Regions from separate parts of the Homo sapiens genome. Here region 2 is linked to region 1. The links are contacts of gene promoters, found by promoter capture Hi-C in human tissues and cell types (Jung and others, 2019). All regions are on one chromosome and are shown on one strand. Each heading gives the region's core, a stretch centred on a gene start or on the middle of the fragment in contact. The rest is flanking DNA. Distances are from core to core; before and after follow the strand shown. Region 1 holds the start of KRT3 (keratin 3). Region 2 overlaps KRT85 (keratin 85).

Evidence for each region. Contacts are between HindIII fragments. The study calls those that stand out against the background at their distance.
Region 2: a fragment that was not itself captured here is called in contact with the fragment with the promoter of KRT3 in region 1 in 2 of the 25 tissues and cell types used here (mesenchymal stem cells and thymus).

What each region holds. Positions count from the first base shown.
Region 1 is chr12:52,793,296-52,799,552 of GRCh38, forward strand. It overlaps KRT3 (keratin 3), which reads right to left and starts at 2,822. Exons shown (of 9, transcript NM_057088.3): 1 at 2,103-2,822; 2 at 816-1,036. The coding sequence starts at 2,747. The HindIII fragment of the contact is 6,438 bases long and covers 1-6,257 here.
Region 2 is chr12:52,356,276-52,363,091 of GRCh38, forward strand. It overlaps KRT85 (keratin 85), which reads right to left. Exons shown (of 9, transcript NM_002283.4): 6 at 6,579-6,704; 7 at 5,976-6,196; 8 at 5,192-5,223; 9 at 3,731-4,771. The coding sequence ends at 4,578. Among named protein-coding and RNA genes, the nearest start is that of KRT85, 7.8 kb to the right of the region's middle. The HindIII fragment of the contact is 6,815 bases long and covers 1-5,465 here.

The DNA.
Region 1 (6,257 bases), core at 1,572-4,071:
TGAAAGTTCATCTCTTCCCTCCCTCCATCCCTATCCTGCCCCTCTCAGATGAGCACATCCTCTTTACTATCTCCCTGTTAGTTGGGGGACCAACCAAGTCAATTTGCCCAGGCAAACTGTCTGGTTTTAGCACTAAAATTTCTGCATCCCAGGAAACCCCTCAGTCCCAGGCAAACCTCTGGATGGTTGATCACCATACCATGAGTTGTCCCAGAATCTTTCACATGCCAGAACCAGGATCTTCCCCAACCTGGCTCATGAGGAAATGCTTCCCCAACTCTAAACTCATCCGTTTTTTGTTTTTGTTTTTTTTTTAGACATAGTCTCGCTCTGTCACCGAGGCTGGAGTGCAGTGGTACAATCTTGACTCACTGCAACCTCCATTTCCAGGGTTCAAGAAATTCTGTTTCCTCAGCCACCCGACTATCTTGGATTACAGGTGTGTGCCACCACACCCAGCTAATTTTTGTATTTTTAGTAGAGATGATATTTCGCCATGTTGGCCAGGCTGGTCTTGAACTCCTGACCTCAAATGATCTGTCCACCTCGGCCTCCCAAAGTGCTGGGATTACAGGCATGAGCCACCAAGCCCAGCCTAAACTCATCCTCTTGCCACAATTTTATTTGCAAAGCACCATGCTTGGAGAAGGAAGGTGAGGGGGAACTGAATGAACCAAGCTGTCCTTCATGAAGGTAAGGAGAGGGAAATGGGCCAGGAGACGCCACTGCCCAGCAGTCAGGGGGCATGTAGAAGGGGCCAAGACTCTGAGACAGGGTGGGCCATGGCATCTTCCCACTCCTGCCCTGTCACTCACTTCTTCTTGAAGTCTTCCACCAGGTCCTCCATGTTCTTCAGCTCAGAGTCCAGGCGCCCTCTCTCCCCGAGGATGTTGTCCAGGTAGCTCCGCAGGTAGTTGATGTGATTCTCAAAAAGAGGCTCAAGGTTGTTTGTGCCTGAGATGGAACTTGTGCCCTGCTGCTGGAGCAGGTTCCACTTGGTCTCCAGGACTTTGTTCTGTTGCTCCAGGAACCGCACCTGCAATGGTTGCAGGAAGCAACATCAGGCAACACTTGTAGCAGAGGAGCAGAGGGGCCTTCACTCAGGTAGGACTAGGTGTCTATCTCCTGGGCCCCCAGCACAAAGGCCTAGAAAAGATGCAAAGATAGGCTCCTACTGTAGTCAGAGAGATTATGATCAGATGGGTGATGAGTCAGGACACTACACTTGCAGCGTGGTTTGGAAAGTTACAAAGGAAGGGGAAGTAGCTCCTACCTGAAAGCAATAGAATTATTGCTTGTTGTTCCTGGGAACTTCATGACCCTATCTTAACTTCCAAAACCACAGTACACTCTACAAAAATGCACATAAACCTCAGCAGCACCATTTCCACCCACGACTCTACTGACATGCTAGCTCTTCAAAAACAGTGAAGTGATGCTGGGAAGCTGGGAAGCAACACTGGCTGGCATGCCACAGTTAGCATGACAACACCTCTCTTGGGCCTGGAGGGGAGGCAGCCCCATGAGAACTGTCCTGGTCTGGAGAAGCTCACCGAGCACTCTTGTCTTCCTGACTAGGCTGAGTAGGAGTGCAAAGTCACTCATTTCTCTGCGCTCCCTTGGGACTAACTAAGGTTCTTATGCTCTTAATCCCTGCTCCAGGTAATCAGCCTCCTCTGCCTGGCACAGCAATATGAGGGGGAAAGGGCTTCCTGGAAAGCCTCAGAGGGCAGCTTGTATTTGAAAAGCCTCCCATTCTTGGTGGACCCTTCGCTGATGGTGGCTGTGGCCCTTGCCTTGGGCTGCCTGCCCTGCCAGCCTGGGCCTCAATGAGGCAATGACTGGAAACTTCAGCAGGGGTTCCCACAAACAGGATGTGTGGTGCTCAGGTCCAAATAGGGGACTGTTTTCTTTCTACACCTCCCCTCACTTGACCATGTAGACAAACTCCTCAACCCTGGATATCTTCCCAGACCCTAGAGTTCCACCTAACTCCTCACCCTCCAGTCTGGCCTATCCAAGAAACATTTAAACACTGTGTCCCAAAGGTCAAATTCAAAGTCCCCAGCCCAGGAAGGGATGACCAGTCAAAGCTTCATTACCTTGTCAATGAAGGAGGCAAACTTGTTGTTGAGGGTCTTGATCTGTTCCCGCTCCTGGGCCTTTACTTGCCCAATCTGGGGGTCGATCTCCACATTGAGGGGCTGCAGGAGACTCTGGTTGATAGTCACTTCCTGAATTCCCCCAGGAAAGCCCCCAGGGCCAAAGCCACCAGGACTGCCCAAGCTGCCAGGCCCACCAAAGCCACCAGACCCACCAAAGCCACCAGGACCACCAAAGCCACCAGCCCCTCCAAAGCCACCAGCCCCTCCAAAGCCACCAGCTCCACCAAAGCCACCTCCCATTCCTCTGCCACCACCAAAGCCACCACCAAAGCCACCTCCATAGCCGCTCCCAAAGCCACCTCCATAGCCACCTGCAAAGGCACAGCTGCTCCGCCCTCCCCCAAAGCCTCCAGCCCGGGAGCCGCCAGCTGCCACGCTGATGGAGATGCTCTTGTTGCCGCCCAGGTTGTAGAGGCTGCGACTGCCAAAGCCACCTGCTCCGCTCCGGAAGCCATAGGCCCCTCCGCCAGCTCCCCCAGAGTGGGCCACACAGCTCATCCTGCTGCTGCCGGAGACCACAGCAGAGCGGCCGGAGAAACCCTGGCTCCCGCCACCAGATGTCTTGCTGGCTTGTCTGCTCATGGTAAGGAGCTTGGCGAAGAGAAGAGTGTAAGTTAAGCAGGGACACTGAGAGTCAGAGGAAGAGGGATGGGAAATGAAGACCTGTGCAAAATAAATCCCTTTATATACATTTGAGGAGGTTGTTGGGCTCAAACGAAGGAGAGATAATTAATCCCAAATATTCATGGGCTGGGTTTGCCTCCAAGGCAATAAGTTTGTTCCAGGCTACCAAACACACCTTGAAAATAAGCTGAAATGGTAAAAGTGCTAAGGTGGCAGGCTTACCTGGTGAGGGGGTGGTGCCTGGTGTTGCCCCATGTTTGGGCATGGCCTCCTCCTAGCTCTGTCTGACAGGACCCAGGAGGCACGCTCACCTGCATCAGGTGCTCAGCAGCCATCCCTCTGCCTATTAGCTGCACCTGGGCCCTGCAGAGCGGTGCCCAGCTCTGGAGAGGATAGAGTGGAGGAGGTGTGGGGAGGTTCTGCTTCTCTGAGTAGTGGAGACAGTGGAGCCCACTCACAGCTCTGGGAAAGTATCTTAATGGAAGGAGTGATGCAGGTCTCTCCACAATGACTGAGTGCACAGTATGTGCCCAGCTCTACGCTGGCCTTTGGGATGAAGCGCTGACCTCTCCTTCTCCCTTCTTGGAAAAAAGCCCAGAACTATCACAAATCTGCCTCCTGGGTTCTCCCTGTACCCCAAGCTTTAGTTCAGGAGGTAGTGACCTTTTGGTTTATGACTATCTTTGGAGAAAAAGTCAAGTTAACACCTATGTATGTTGAGCAGACACTGGCAAAATCCAACATGCCTAATGTTTGTTTCTCTTTAAAACTTCCCAGAGAAATTATACACTATTACACATCTTGGGGTTTATCTATGGCTTCCTTTCTTGCTCCCCACATTTTGGCCTTTCTCTGGTTTTAGCTTAAGGCCTAGGGAACAAGAAATTCAAATGTCAAGTCAACAACAAATTCAGCAAATATTTACAGACTGCCAAATGTGTGCCAGGCCCTTTGCAAAACTCTGGAGACCCAGTCATGGACAAGACACACAGGGCCCCTGTGGGACCATTTTCTGTTTGAGAGATGTGCTCCTGAGAGTCGCCCATGCCCCCTCACAAACCCCAGAAAGCCAGATCTGGCAGAGCCGGCAGCACTATGGAATATGTCTGACTCCGAAAGCCTGAAACTCTCCCTGTCTGGGGTTGTTCAGAGGCTTATGACTGGGCTTGGTTTGTCCAAAAGAAAGCCATCCTGCACACTCTGGAGCTGGCCAAGTTAGCTGCTTATCTCTCCAGGACAGGCCTTTTTTGTTCTGTCTGCTGCACATTGGGCCCTTCTAAGGGTGTGGTCTGTATGGCCCTGGCAGGAGCCTCCTTAGAATTGGGGGAAAGGATAGAGACTTCTTCAACACCCACTGGGTAGGGCTGGGAGTGGCCCAAGTGCAAAGGAAGTACAATTTTCTTCAGTGGCCTGGTTCTTCCATTTTATCCTTATCTCTCCCATGTGTTACCTGCCAGGCTGTGCAACATCCTAGCTCCTCCCCAGGATAAAACCATAAGCTCTCCAGGAGTTTCCAGTCTTGTTAATATACTGGGTGCCTTGAACCAAAGCACAGTGCTTTGCCAATAGTAAGTGCCATAAAGTTTGGTTTGTTGAAAAAATGAATTAGTCCATCAATTAATTATTAATGACTAATGGTTAAGCCCTTATACTGGATTACAACCAGATAAAACTGGTTGAAAGCTAGTTCAACTCCCATTGCATGAGGTAGCACAAGCTAATTGAGATTATTTCAATGTGAGGAATCCAGACTTCTCAAATTTGGTGTTCAGATTTAGAAAAATTTACATGCAAAATGAGTGTCACCTCCTCAGGGGAAAAAAATGTAGAATCACAGAATCAAGAACTAATCAATCAAGAATCAATCAATTACAGAATCAAGTTGAAGTTGACTGGACATTTGAGGTCACACAATCTGCCCCGTTCATTGCTGGGATCCCCTCTCCAGCATCTCTGACTTATATCCCTAATTTTCTGCAAGTTCTGCCCATGGACTGTGAAGTTAGCCCAGGCCTAGAGTGTGGCCACACAGGCTCCTCTCCTCTTTGCTCCCTCAAAGGCAATGAACCAAACCCAGGGCTAGACCAGATCCTCCCCATGACTAAGCATGACCAAAGCTATTTAAATTCTCTGCATTTCAGCATCATTAACCATAAAAGATGATCAATCATCTCTGACCCTCTAGATCTCACAGGAACATAGCTAGATGAATGAAATATCTGCCAGTGTTTTAAGAAACATATCACAAGGCCAAATGTGGTGGCTCACGCCTGTAACCCCAATACTTTGCAAGGCTGAGGTGGGCAGATTGCTTGAGCCCAGGAGTTTCAGACCAGCCTTGGAAACATGGCAAAACACCATCTCTATGAAAAAAATACAAAGATTAGCCGGGTGTGGTGTCATGTGCCTGTAGACCCAGGTGCTTGGGAGGCTAAGGTCGGAGGATCACTTGATCCTGGGAGGTCAAGGCTGCACTGAGCTATGATTGCACCATGGCACTCCAGCCTGGACAACAGAACAAGACCCTTCTCAACAAAAGAAAAAGAAAAAAGGAAACATATCACAAAAATTAGACCATATTTTTCCTTATAATATCTAAGAGAGCAGGATGGAGGACCTGCCTTTATGCCAGACAGAAATGAGGCTGCTGCTTGGTCTGGTGTGGGGTCTAGAGTCCAGGGCAATGAGTCTCTAGGAATTCCTAAACCCATAGTGATTCAGGGTACTTAGTGCCCCAATGGGGGGAGATCTTAGTCATTGCCAGAGCCCACTGATTCTGAGCCATGCTTGTCATTCCTTTAGAGGGAATTATCTTGGAGAAGAATCTTTGAGAAGCAACATCACAACCACTGCTGTCATCAGCTAGTCCTGGGTCGGGGACCTCCCCAGCAGATGGTGGAAGAAAAAGGAAGAAGGGCATAATCTATACTTACTCTTGGGGTTGGGATAGCAGAGAAGACATGGCTTGACCTTTGAGAGGACAGGGAGCAAAACAAAGATTGGGGAATACATTCGTGGGACTAGATTGTCAATTCTGATCAGAGCTGTGAGTGAAGGAAGTGGTGGAAGGGGAGGAGATAATCAGTGAGTTGAAATTCTTATTGGTTGGGCCCATCCCTCTAAACTTGTAGGGCCTAATAAACACTTTGAGAAAACAGAGTTGGTTTACAGTCATCCCCAACACTTGAATTATCTGAAGTTTATTAACTAAGCGCCCTAAGTGTTTACTCCCTGGAGAAAAGAGTGAGTCACTGGATTGCAATGTGTAAAATCGAGACTCATAGGGTGCTACGGCCAGGAGGCTCTCCAGTCCACTCCTCTACCTCGAGGCAGAATTCACCTGGCCACTCCTACTCTTCAGGATCCCCATGGAAGGCGATTCATCAAATCTCCTAACTTGCCCAGGCCAGCAAGACCCCACCCTGACCCAAGGAAGGTCTTCAAGGATCTAGCTTTCGTGCCTTCCAC
Region 2 (6,816 bases), core at 808-3,307, 440 kb before region 1:
TCCCGTCCCTCCCGGCGCCCAGCCCCTAGGCCCCTCACCACTGGGGTTAGAGGCTAAGGGCGGGACGCGGGGCGTCTCGGGCAGGGGTGAAGGAGGGCAGCCGGGGCCCAGGCGTGGAGGGCGGGCGCGTTTGAGAGAGGCGCAGGCGGCGGGATCCCGGCGGACGGCAGAAGACTCAGGAACCAGTCCAGAGGCGCCGAGGCGCGAACCTTGCGTGAGCCAAGGACCCAAGGCCCCTGTGGATCTGATCCCGCGGGCTCCAGCAGGGCCCGCGCCGTGCATCTGGAGATGGGCCCAGGATACCCGGTGGCTGGACGTGACGGTGGGCAGGCAGGCAGGGCAGGGCACGGGGCGACCCGTGAGCAAAGCGAGGGTGGGGGTAGGAGGGGTGTGGCCCCTGACTCTCGTGGGTGGGGAGATGGGGGACAACGGTGGCCTCAACGGGAGACGGGGCCAAAGTGGGGACCTGCAGGGAGGACCTGCAGGCCCCTTGTTACACTGTAAACTGTCCCCACCCAGGTGGCCTGCGGACCACCGAGGCTGAGGAAGTCCTGCTGGCCTGGACGGTGACTCGCCTTCCCATCCCGAGTCTCTCGCATCCAGAGGGCCAGCACTGCACGGGCGACATAACAGAGAAGAGCCTTTGAATGGTTCTCCTCGGCCACGCAGTTCTTCTGATGTCTTCAGACTCTGTTTCAGTGACCACAATGGCCAGGCAGTGACTTGACCTGGGCGGACAGAGGTCTATCTTAGTAGGGTGGTGCTTCCCTTGTCTCTGTCTCCCGGACCAAAGGGTCTTGCAGGGGCCTGCCCATCACAGTCCGGATCCCACCAAGTTTGAGCAGCAGTAAAGCCAGGTTAAAAGGGTCACCAGAGTGACTCTGAGGAGGAAACGGTGTCTCAGGGGGCATTGGCTGCCCTGGGGCATGGGACTGTGGACTGGGGAAGGGTCTGTGTTTCCTTTTGATGGTGGTGGAGGGTGGCTATTTGTCTATGAATGCCTTGGGTATTTTCTTCATTTTTAATGCGTAAGCTTATCATGCTGTCCCCGCCTCACCCCACTCCCTGGCTGCTCCCCTGCCAACATGGGGGAGCCCTCGGTTTTTGAACAAAGCGGAAATGAGCAGGGATTTCCAGGCATGCACAGGTTGGGGGTTGGGGGTTGGGGGAGGCAGGAAGGTGGCCTGAGGCTCTGTGAAATAAGCCTCTCCCATTGCTTGTTCTGCCTGGCATGTCCCTACACCCAAGGAGTGTGGCGCTTAGTGCCCATGTCGTTGTTGCTCTGATCCTCAATGAGCAAAACACTTAGTACAGTCACTTCCTAATGCTCATGTTCCCAGAGAGAGACAGGAGTGTGAATAACCCAGACAAGGGGACATTAAGTCCCACATGGTCATGTCCGTGTCTACACAGAACATACTTGGTAATTTTCTTGATAATATGGTTAATTTGTGTTCCTCACTATGCTTGGCTAATGTGAGTAGTAACACAAAATTCTATTTTCTGAGATCCCAAAGATTGAAGCAGGGAACAGTTAGAGACACGGGCTGGGGGAAGGAACTCTCTTGGGCATAGGTGTTTGTGAGGATGGGTTGAAGCAGAGTGGGTTGAGAATTGGTGGTGGAGTGTTAGTGGTTTCAGGAGAAAGGAAAAGATGACAAATCCCAAGCGTACCTGTTTCTTTGAACAGGTTATTATCCATACTTCTAATCCTCTGGAAGCTTTGTGTGTTTGTGGGGAAGGATATCACTAACATTTACATAAGAATTGAATACAGACAGCAGGTCTGATTTTCTCTGATGCTGGTGTTAGCTTGGTTTGTGATGTTTCTAAGCAGGAAGGAGCCCAGGGCAGAGATCTGGGATCACTCCCATGGCCCACTTTATTGTTTGGGCCTCTTGAACTTCTGGCTTTTCCTCGATCTCTCAATTTCAGGTCACTTGACTTCTTCAGAATTTTTTCTTTCTAATAAAATGTTAATCCTTAGTTACCCTTGGACTGTACCCTTTGCATTCCGAGGGGAATAGTTCTTTGATCAGGAGAGAGCTGCAGGAGCCCCAGCATCCTTTGAGCCAGAAGAGCTTGCTGTGGTGGGTTTTTGCTGTTGGCTGCAAGGAGGGCTGGGGCAGAGGCTTACCTCCCCATAAGCAAAAGGCACCTCTGGCCAGCTGAATCTGTTGAATGGTATTTGCACACAAAGCACGGAAATGTATTAAAAAATTCATTCCTATCTCCCAGGTTCTGGCTGTTTGACTTTTCAATCCATGGTGCCGTTATTTTTTGGGTATCAGATTTGGCATTTTTGTTTTGCTCAGCCCAGATCCATGGTAACATGAAGCTGTTTTCCCCAAGCATAGACTCTCTGTAGCATCTCAGAACCATAGGAGGCAGCAGACCTGGTAAGGACTCTACCCACTCATCTCATAGACCCCAGACTGACATGCAAAGCATGAAAGCCACTTCCTGCCCAAGGACTCACCGAGACCTGGCAGTCTTGGCAGAATTGGGGCTCAAATTTCCATTTCCTGATGTTTCAGCCCCTGGGATTTAACGTTTCCTGTGGGTGAATGATGTCCCCTAAATTGAAAGTTGGCCTATTGTGATTGTCACCATGCCCTCAGGGCCCAAACAGCTGGGAAAAAGGAGGCAGCAGGCAAGAGACCTGGAGGAGGCCCGCCAGGTGTCAGCCAGCAAACCTCAAACAGAGCAGCAGCCTAAGCACTCAGAAGCAGCCAGCAGCCTCCAGTGGGGCTACAGCCCTTTGGGCCTAAAGTGAGGATGCACAAGGCCCTATCTTCTCCTCTCAGAGAAAGAGGCTGCAGGATGGGGCAGCAGGGGGCTGGCAGACACCTGCTTGATGACGGTGACAGCTAATGGGGAGATGGAGCTGAGGGCAAGAGGACTGGATGTCTCTACCTCCTGCTGCACCAGCTGCCTGCATTCATCCAGCACATCCCAGGCCTGGCATATCTTGGAGCCCCATCCTGGGACTCAGTGGGAGGTCAGAGCCAGGAGGAGATACTTCCTGTCCTTATGGAATTTCCAGCTTGATCCAGACACACCCGTTGACATCCCTGGCCCAGATCCGCAGAGACAAAACCAGAGATTCTCAGGGTTCCAGACACTATATGATGGGGGCGGGGGAGGGCTGGGGGGTGTAGGGGTGAGGGTGGTAGCTTTGGGGAGCAGAGGAGGGCCCTGAGCAAAGGCAAATGGGAGGAGGGATGTGGGATGGCCTATGTGTCCACAAGGGGTATGTAGGAGAGAGTGTCTCTGGGCTGCCTCAGAGGGTAGACTTGTCTCCTTGGGGTGGAGTCCATGACTGGGAGGATGAGCACCGCATGGAGGGGTTGGACAGGGCTGAGGAGTAGCTGGGGAAGGAGGTGACAGAGGAAGCCTGCATTTGGCATAAGAAGCACACACATGTGCCAGGAAGTGACTTGAGCCAGGCAGGAGAGGGTGAGAGCAGTGAGTTTGGGATGGAGTTTTGGCTGCTGGGAGTACGCAGGGTGGGTCAGGGAGAAAGAGGTCATTAGTGGGGAGCTGGGCTGTAGTCCAGGCCTGAGGGGACTGAGGGCGACTGAGTGGAATCAGACTGTGGAAGTGGACAGGAAGCAGCAGAGTTTCTGGGGGGTGACTGGGGAAACACTGCATGGGGCTGGACTGGGATTGGTCATCTGGAGATGAGGCAAGAAGGGAGTGGAGAAGTTGCTCACAAGACCACACGCTCTTGCATTGCAGCGGCATTTATTGAAACACAGATCGAGACAACCCAGAAGGCAATGCACCCATAGACAGTCACAAGAAGGAGACCCAGGAAGTGGCTTAACTCTCTGTCCCGCCAGCTCTGCATTGGACAGTCCCCACCTGCACCCAGCAAGGGGGCATCTGGAGCAGCCATGGAGTCTTCTTTGAAATGTACAAAGGTTCACTGAATAGCAAGACCTGTCCAAAGTGCCCTAACCAGGGGCTGTAGGCAAAAGGATGCCCCACGATAATGGGCTTCTCAACTGCGAGGTCACATGAGGAGCCTGGCTGGAACAGGTTAGCCCAGAAGCAGGAAGGCAGTCTGAGAGAGAAGCAAAACATGAACAGGAATGAACAGGCAAGTGCTTGCTGGGGGACCATTCTTCCCAGCCAGGAGGAGGGGGCTGCTGGGGAGGGACTTTCTCCCTGATTCTCGGGTTGTGGGTGGCCTGGCTGGATGGTTAGGATGGCGCCTCCACCCAGAAGGTGGAGCTTCCGTGCTGACCACCACGCTGGGGGACTGGTCTTGTCCCTGAGAGCTGGGGGAATAATACAAATTGGATACAGGTATTTTGGAGCTAAGTAGGAGTTAAGTGAAGGGCTGGGAATGCCTCTGAAAACAGCTGCCAGGAGGACAACTAGGATGCATCTCCCTAGCATGAAAAGGCGCAGGGGAGCGGCCCGAGGGTCTTTCCCTCTGTAGGTCTTTCCCTCTGTAGGAACATCCAGAAGATTCTGGAAGCAAGCACACATTTTCCATTCACATGCCATTCAGTGCAGTGATGCAGGCAGGCAGGTGCTTGGCAGGAAGCCCTGGCTCCATGACTCTACTAGGCAAAGCGGACCGACCGGCTACTCCCGCAGCTGAAGCTGGAGGAACGAGGCTGGCAGGGGGCACAGGAGTCAGGGGCCACCACCGTGATGCTGCCGCCTATGGCTGAGGGGCCAGAAGTGATCTGGCGCCCTGGGGTGGTGCTGTAGGAGAGGCCCCCACAGGAGACTCCACCACGGGAGCTGCTGACACCTGTGGAGAGAGGAGACATGGAGGGGTGAGCAGCTCCCTGCAATCTCACCCACCCTACAACAGGCCCCAGGGCACTGCAGGAGCTGCCTCCCTCTCCAAGGAATTGGTGGTCAACAATGCAGGCCCTGTCCCTGAGATGCACAGCCCATCTAGGGAACTGGGGCAGGAAGGAAGTGAGGACCCCTGGACCCCGGGGAGCAAAGCTGCCAGGCCACAGGTCCATGGCCTATAGCTCACTGTCAACACTTGCGAAGAGCACTCAGCTCAGCTTTCTCTAACACCTGTCATGGCCCCCACTGAGGAGCCAGGGGAGGGTGAAACAGTTGGGGGAACACTCGAGGCTCCATGGGTTAGGCCAATGAGTTCAGCTTTTCTATCAAAAAAGCCATTTTTCCAGGAGAATTTCAGGCAGATACTCACAGACATTCACAGAGCCCACACCTTCACACAGCCTATGGAGAAAGAAAACTCTGTTAGTTCCAGACACTGAGTTGGATTCCTTGAGACTGATGGTTGCTTGGGGACAGAGAGGGTCATCCTGTGTACAGAGTCTACCCCTGAAAGGCAAGAAGGGCTCCCTCAAATCTGCATTAAATGCTTTCTTTCTTTGATGGTTTTAACCATGAAGACAAGGCTTTCTGATTTTCAGCAGCAGTGGGTAAGATTATGAACAGTGCCCCTAGTTTGAGTGATGGTGGCCAGCCTGGATGGTGCCAATCAAGCTCACAGGAAGGAGAGTTGAATCAGATACACCAGGGTGTGAAGGGGCTTTGTGGTTGATGAAGAGCTAAATGCATATAGAAGTGCATCATCATCATAACACACAGGCCTGTGTGGCAGCAGCTTCAGTAGGAAGCTATTCAACAAGGACGGATTTGGGAGGCATGAGACTTGGGTGCAGGTCCCAGCTCTTCTGCTTATTAACTGCGTAGCCATGATAAAGGCACTGAATTCTGAGCCTGCTTCTTTATCTAAAGATAAAAAGATGGGAAAAACCATATCTATCTTATTGGATTGTGAGGATTATAAAATAAACACTTAGCACAGGTCTAGCACAGAAGCATTCAGTTATTATTATTATTATTATTGAAGCTATTGTATTAGCCATGGCCAGAGTTGTAGCTCACACTCAGCTCAAGGAAATTCACTCCTGGAGGACCACAGCCTCCACCTCTGAAACCCCACAAAGTCCTCTTAGCCCCACCTGTGTTCCTCGCCCTCCAGCAGGCGCCTGTAGGTGGCGATCTCGATGTCCAGGCCCAGCTTGGAGTTCATCACCTCCTGGTACTCCTTGAGCAGGCAGGCCATGTCCTGCTTGGCCTTCTGCAGGGCGCCCTCCAGCTCAGCCAGCTTGCAGCGGGCATCGCTGAGGGCCGCCTCACCCTGCTGCTCTGCCTCAGCCACAGCAGCCTCCAGCTTGGCACGCTATCAGGTGGAGATACAAGGGCCAGGATGAGAAAGAGAAGCCACAGCTTGGCTCACCCAAGCTGATGGAGCCAGGGCAGGGAGAGGAGGGTCCTGGAGAGAAGGTTGGCCCGTGGCCAGGTAGTTAATGGGGCTGTGAATATGAGGGAGGAGATGGGTGGGCTTTTCATCATCTCTCCTTGATGGCGGTCACAGGGTGGCCAAGGAAGGGGCTGGATCCTCCTTTGGAAGTCAGTGACATGGTCTGATTGCTGTGAAATATGATAGAGCCCCTCCCTTCCCTCTGGGTCCCTGCTTCCTCATGGGCACACTGTGAAGCCTGATTAGGGCCAGGTGCTGCAGCCTGCCTGTGCTGCGTATTTGAATCCTCCACAGACCCCACCTGGCACTTGGCATTCTCAATCTCGGCCGTCAGCCTCTGGATCATGCGGTTCAGCTCGTTGATCTCCTCCTTGGTGCGGCGCAGGGTCTCCCCATGCCTGATCACCGTGGCCTTCATCTCCTCACACTGGAGGAAGTAGAGATGCTCATGAGGCTCAGGGTGGGGCCCCCCATCCATTCAGGACACCACAGATGACTATACAGGTTGTACGGTGCTCAGCCTGTGCAACCACACATGG